Regions from separate parts of the Homo sapiens genome. Here region 1 is linked to region 2. Evidence: promoter capture Hi-C in 16 types of primary human blood cells and fetal thymus (Javierre and others, 2016). All regions are on one chromosome and are shown on one strand. Each heading gives the region's core, a stretch centred on a gene start or on the middle of the fragment in contact. The rest is flanking DNA. Distances are from core to core; before and after follow the strand shown.

Region 1 (2,700 bases), core at 66-2,565, 550 kb before region 2:
TCCGCGCAGCCCGCCGCCTTCGTCCGCATACTAATGAGGGGGCGCCGGCCGGCCGCCAGCCCGGTACCCCGCGCCCCCACCCGCCCCCAGCGCCGCTCTCGCGCCCATTCAGCTGGGGGCCGCCGCTCCCCCGCTCAGATGCGGAGGAGGGGCGCGTGGGCGGGGTCTGACGTCACGAGGACGCGGACGGCCAATCGGAGAGCACGATGCCTCCGCGGCGGCCCCCGCCCCCGGGCGCGCGGCCAGTCAGCCCTGCGGTGCGGTGGGCATTGCCAGAGCAGGGCGCCCCCTGCAGGGACGCACCCGGGGCGGGGGCCAGGCTGGGGCGAGCCCCCCTTGGTTCTGGAGAGGAAATGACATACAGTTTGTGAAAGCATAAATATTCGTGAAAATAAGAAAATTCAGGAAGGAAACAAAGCTTAAGGCAGTGATTGATAGGTTATTTCTTGGACACAGCTGAACGTATACTGTGCGCCTGCAACTTTCCGGTGGTTTCGGACCGGACTTCAGTGAAGCCAGTGAAGTCGGTCGACTTGCAGAACTTCCTTTCAGAGGGGCGTACACAGCACCGCGGCCGTGTGCCTGTGATCTCCTTCTGAGTTTGAAAAAGAAGATCCTAGACACCGAGCCAAATATGTTTGCATAAACCGGGAGACTTGTGGCTCTATTTTGTAACAGCTTGGCGCAGGGCAGCTGGTTTGGAGATGTCTCTGTTCTTCCCTTGGTGGGGGTGCCGGAAAAAATGTGCTGCCTGGGCGATCGAGGTTGGGGCAAAAGCGTTGCAAAGGAAAAGGTGGGAGGACTCTACTTTCACATTTCCCAAAAGAGTTTTACCATAAGACTATTTCTGGATTGTTCTAACGTGAGGATATTGGGAGCATTTTGAAAATACTGGAGGAAAAGCTGTCACTGGGCGATTTAAATCCGGTAAGTTGGCCAAGGCAGAGCAGCTGCTGGGGTCAGCGACAGCTGACCCTTGCAGCTGAGTATCTTGCCCTCTTAATCTTGGAGATCAGCCCAAGGCCCATGTGTTACAGGAAAGGGGTCCCGATCTAGACCCCAAGAGAGGGTTCTTCGATCTCACGCAAGAAACAATTCAGAGTAAGTCCACAGTGCAAAGTAAAAGCAAGTTTATTAAGAAAGTAAAGTGGTGGCTGGGCACAGTGGCTCACGCGTAATCCCAGCACTTTGGGAGGCTGAGACGGACAGATCACCTGATGTCAGGAGTTCAAGACCAGCTGGCCAACATGGCAAAACCCCGTCTCTACTAGAAATACAAATATTGGCCGGGCGTGGTGGCGCAAGCCTGTTGTCTCAGCTACTCACGGGGCTGAGGCAGGAGAATCGCTTGAACCCGGGAGGCAGAGGCTACAGTGAGCCGAGATCGCCACTGCACTCCAGCAGGGCATTCCTGAAAATAAGAGGAGGGACATATCCAACTAAGGTACAATGCTTGTAATGCTTGTATATATGGGCAGATGTCTTCTGCTACAAGGGTTTGTGATAAAGGATTAATTTTCCCTAATTACTATATTTTGCAATAATCAATATTATTATTTTTAAAGCAAAATTAGGAATGCCTTTGTTCTCCAGATATCGGGATATCTGGACTCTCTCAAGTCTGGGTCTGTTTAGTAAGCATTATTAATTTGTTCTCTTAACCATAAACACCTAGAGGCTAGGAATGCCTAGCTTTCAGGAAATGCAGCCTAGCAAGTCCCAGCCTCATTTTTCTAGCCCTCACTCAAAATGGAGGCGCTCTGGTTTGAACACTTCTGACACATGTGCTTGATGCAACACTCTTTACCTCTCTTTGTCTCCCCTGTCCTTCCCCTTCTCTTCCAGATTCCCCTTGTCGGCAAAGCCAGGCGCTGATAGCGTTATGGCTGCCATGAGAGTCAGCAGTATCCCAGCTTCCAAGGATGGGTGTAAGGTGGGGGTGAGGAAGAAAAGGAACTTGAAGCTGCCTCCTGTCCCAGAATCACAAGACATCTGTTAAGCCCTTACTACCTCATTCACTCCACTCACATTAGGTTGACCCACTTGGGCAGCAAGACAAGCAGGCCTGCAAACTTCCTTTTCTTCATCAGCCACAGAGACATCCTCAGCTATTATTCTGGATTAAGGCAGAGATCTCCAAACAGCAGACTAAGATCAGCCTCTAGATCTCAAAGCCTTACTGTTATCTCTCCAAGTCAGTGGCTGATCTCAGAGAAGCTTCTGAATAGTGACTAGCAAAGAGTCACTCAGGCTACTTACAAATCCAGGACAGCAGCGTTTTTTTTTTTTTCTTTTTTAGAGACAGATTCACTCTGTCATCCAAGCTGGAGTGCAGTGGCACGATCTTGGCTCACTGCAACCTCCACCTCCTGGGCTCAAGCAATCCTCCTACCTCAGCCTCCCAAGTAGCTGGAACTACAGGTACCCAACACCATGCCAGGCTAATTTCTAATTTTTTGTAGAGACAGCAGTCTCCCTCTGTTGCCCAGGCTGGCCTCAAACTCCTAGGCTCAAGTGTTCCTCCTGCCTGGGCCTCCCAAAGTGCTGGGATCACAGATGTGAGCCACTGCATGCAGCCAAAACCAGTTATTTTTTGGCTGGGCATGGTGGCTCGCACCTGTGATCCCAGCACTTTGGGAAGCCGAGGTGGGCAGATTACTTGAGGTCAGGAGTTTGAGACCAGCCTGGACAACATGGTGA
Region 2 (2,700 bases), core at 141-2,640:
ACTTGTGAGTGAAATTAACCCATTTACATTTATTGTAAATACTGATGTTTGGACTTTTCACATGAAAAACATTTTTACCATATGTTCTGGTTTCTTTTGCTTATCTCGTTCCCATTTCTGCCTTCTTTCAGCTGGATAGGTTTTTTCTTCTCATTTAGCAGCCCCCTTCCTTTAAATGGTCTACAGATTATAAATCCAATTTAATTCTTGTTACTAACTTTAAAAACTTAAAATCACATTCAGAATATGTATATTGAAAATCAACATCCAGAGTTGATTTGCATCTATAATCCCTTATATGTTTCCAAACATTCTCTGATTATACGTTTCCACGCTTGTAAAATGGGAGGCATGAGTTCTTCTTAAGGATTAAATGTGATGTAATGTCAAACACTAGCCTTTATGAACATATCTTCAATTTCTTCATTCCATTTCTTTTTCATTCAATCAAAATACTTCAGGTCCAGAGCACACAATCACCTCTAAACTCCTTTGTCCTTCAAAGTCACCTTCTCTTTCATCTCTTCCATCATTCATTATGGCCTTCAACTACTTTAAATTTCTTTGTAAGTATCTGAATACCTTCTCAATCCCACTTTGGAGAAAAAAAAATCTCATTATACATTGTATTTAAAGGTCTCTTTTGCTCTAAATTTAATGAACGTCATTATCCAGTAACTCCACGCCTTTCTTCATTTATCCTTCAAAATGGCGGACTTTAGACGTTCCACGATCAGTACCACGTGCGCCTGCGCCTCCCGCAGCCATTTCGCCCAGCAGCCTAAGCTCGGCGAGGCGCCTGCGCACGAGCCTCCAGAGCACTATCGCTCCTCCCTCTAGCTGAGTACGCCTGAAACCGCACGTTCTCTTCCCTGCCCTCCCCCGCTAACCCTGCACCGCCCTCACCCTTTCCTGTGAGATTCTTCCGCCAAGTGGAAGGCTCATCTTCGGTCGACAGCCTACGCGGTTGAAGAACAATCCAGTAGGCACTTATAGCTCAGGGTCTCGCCATTCAGTCTTATCTATGCGCCACAGCAATTTTCCTCCGGGCCCCAAAGTTGATAACCGATTTCGCGGGACTTTTTTTTTGCATACTGTGAGGCAACAAATGGAAAGAATAGGCCTATGGCGGAGGGATCACTCGCTTATTCTCTGTGTACTTTAACCTAATGGGGGTCGCCCGGGAGTCGGAAGGGGGAGGGGAAAGGGAGGAGGCAGCCAAGGAATTGTTTTTTTCTCTGGCCCCGCCCTCGCCCGGGGGGCCAATGGTGATGATCTGTTTCCCCCGGAGCCTCGCCCAGCTCCTGTGTTTCAGCCAATGAGCGGCGGAAGCGGCTCCGAGGGGGGCGGGTCCGGGAGGCTGTGCGTGTCTTGTGAGAGCTCTTGAACCAAGTCAGCGCTGGAGTCGGCTAGGCGGCTGGAAACGGCGGCTGCCGCCGGTGACTCAGGGAGGCGGGAGGCGGGGTAAGAGCGCCGCGGCCTCGGCTGCGGGGAGAGGGGAGAGAAAGGTGAAAGCGCCGAGCGCGCGGCCCCGTCGCCCGTTGGCAGCGGCGCAGGCCCGGGAGACGGGCGCCCGGGGTTCGGGGCCGGGGAGCTGGGCGCCGGGGCGGGGCGGCGGGGCAAGTGCGGAATCGCGGGCTCGCCCACCCTCCCCCGTGGGGCCGCCCGGGGCGGGGACCCAGCCGCCCGGGACCGGCTCTCTGCACCAGGGGCCTTTTCTTTTCGGGGCTGGGGGCTGAGCACTTTCAAATCCACTCGAGCCGCAGATAATTTTTCCCTCACTCCCTCTGCGGTTGCGTTTGAGCTGTTAGAAAAGCCAAACTTGGGAGAGCGAGGGTCACGCGGCGCTGGGGCCCGGGTGTGTGGCGGGGGAGGGCGGCGGGGGGCGGGAGGGCGCAGGAGGGGGGCTCGGTGCGGGTCCGCCCGGGGCCGCGTCCTCGCGCGGGTTCGGCGCCCTCCGCCCGCCCTCCCTGCTGTCTCCGCCCGGCCCCCTCCCACCGGCCGCCCCCGTCGCATTTTGTTTTTGTGTTTTTGCAGGGAGGAGCTCTTCCTGCAGGCGTGGAAACCATGGTGCTCACGCTCGGAGAAAGTTGGCCGGTATTGGTGGGGAGGAGGTTTCTCAGTCTGTCCGCAGCCGACGGCAGCGATGGCAGCCACGACAGCTGGGACGTGGAGCGCGTCGCCGAGTGGCCCTGGCTCTCCGGGACCATTCGAGCTGTTTCCCACACCGACGTTACCAAGAAGGATCTGAAGGTACAGGCGGCTCCGGGCCTCTGCCACCGGACGTTTCGCAGTTACCGTGGTAACGCGACCATCGGTTCCCTCCTTCCGTTTTCTGAAAACGGAGACCAGAAAGTTGGCATATGATCTGAAGGTGCAGGAAGCTAGATCTTGAAAGTCTTTGGAATGGTTGTATAGAGCCGAGTTGTGTTTGGCCCACAGCTCCTGGCTGCCTGGCTTTAATAATGGGCTTAGGGTTGTTCAGACACGCTTCATTAATGCCGGTGCTGTGTCCCACCAGGACTGTCTCATCTTTACTGCAGAGGAGGAGGAGTATTTTTGTTAGCGTTAGGTAGGGCCTGTAAGTGACGTTTGGAGTCATTAAGAATTGAAGGTTAGTGCTTGGAAGTACTTTCAGCTGGTTTTGTTTGTTTGTTCCTGTTAATTTATTCACTCAACTTTTAAAAAAACTTTCAGACT

Evidence for each region. Contacts are between HindIII fragments. The CHiCAGO score rates a contact against its expected background, and 5 or more counts as called.
Region 1: a contact is called between a fragment that was not itself captured here and the fragment with the promoter of KDM3A in region 2, in 1 of 17 cell types (non-activated CD4 T cells). The highest score is 5.3, in non-activated CD4 T cells.

Annotation. Positions count from the first base shown.
Region 1 is chr2:85,888,877-85,891,576 of GRCh38, forward strand. ST3GAL5 (ST3 beta-galactoside alpha-2,3-sialyltransferase 5) reads right to left here and starts at 114. Exons shown (of 7, transcript NM_003896.4): 1 at 1-114. The coding sequence starts at 29. It overlaps ST3GAL5-AS1 (ST3GAL5 antisense RNA 1), which reads left to right and starts at 404. Exons shown (of 3, transcript NR_110569.1): 1 at 404-927; 2 at 2,300-2,329. RefSeq lists a silencer at 1-515. The HindIII fragment of the contact is 1,799 bases long and covers 417-2,215 here.
Region 2 is chr2:86,439,981-86,442,680 of GRCh38, forward strand. It overlaps KDM3A (lysine demethylase 3A), which reads left to right and starts at 1,391. Exons shown (of 26, transcript NM_018433.6): 1 at 1,391-1,464; 2 at 2,038-2,253. The coding sequence starts at 2,068. RefSeq lists enhancers at 460-1,003, 825-1,024, 1,105-1,184, 2,175-2,234 and silencers at 1,315-1,704, 1,925-1,974. The HindIII fragment of the contact is 3,261 bases long and covers 1-2,700 here.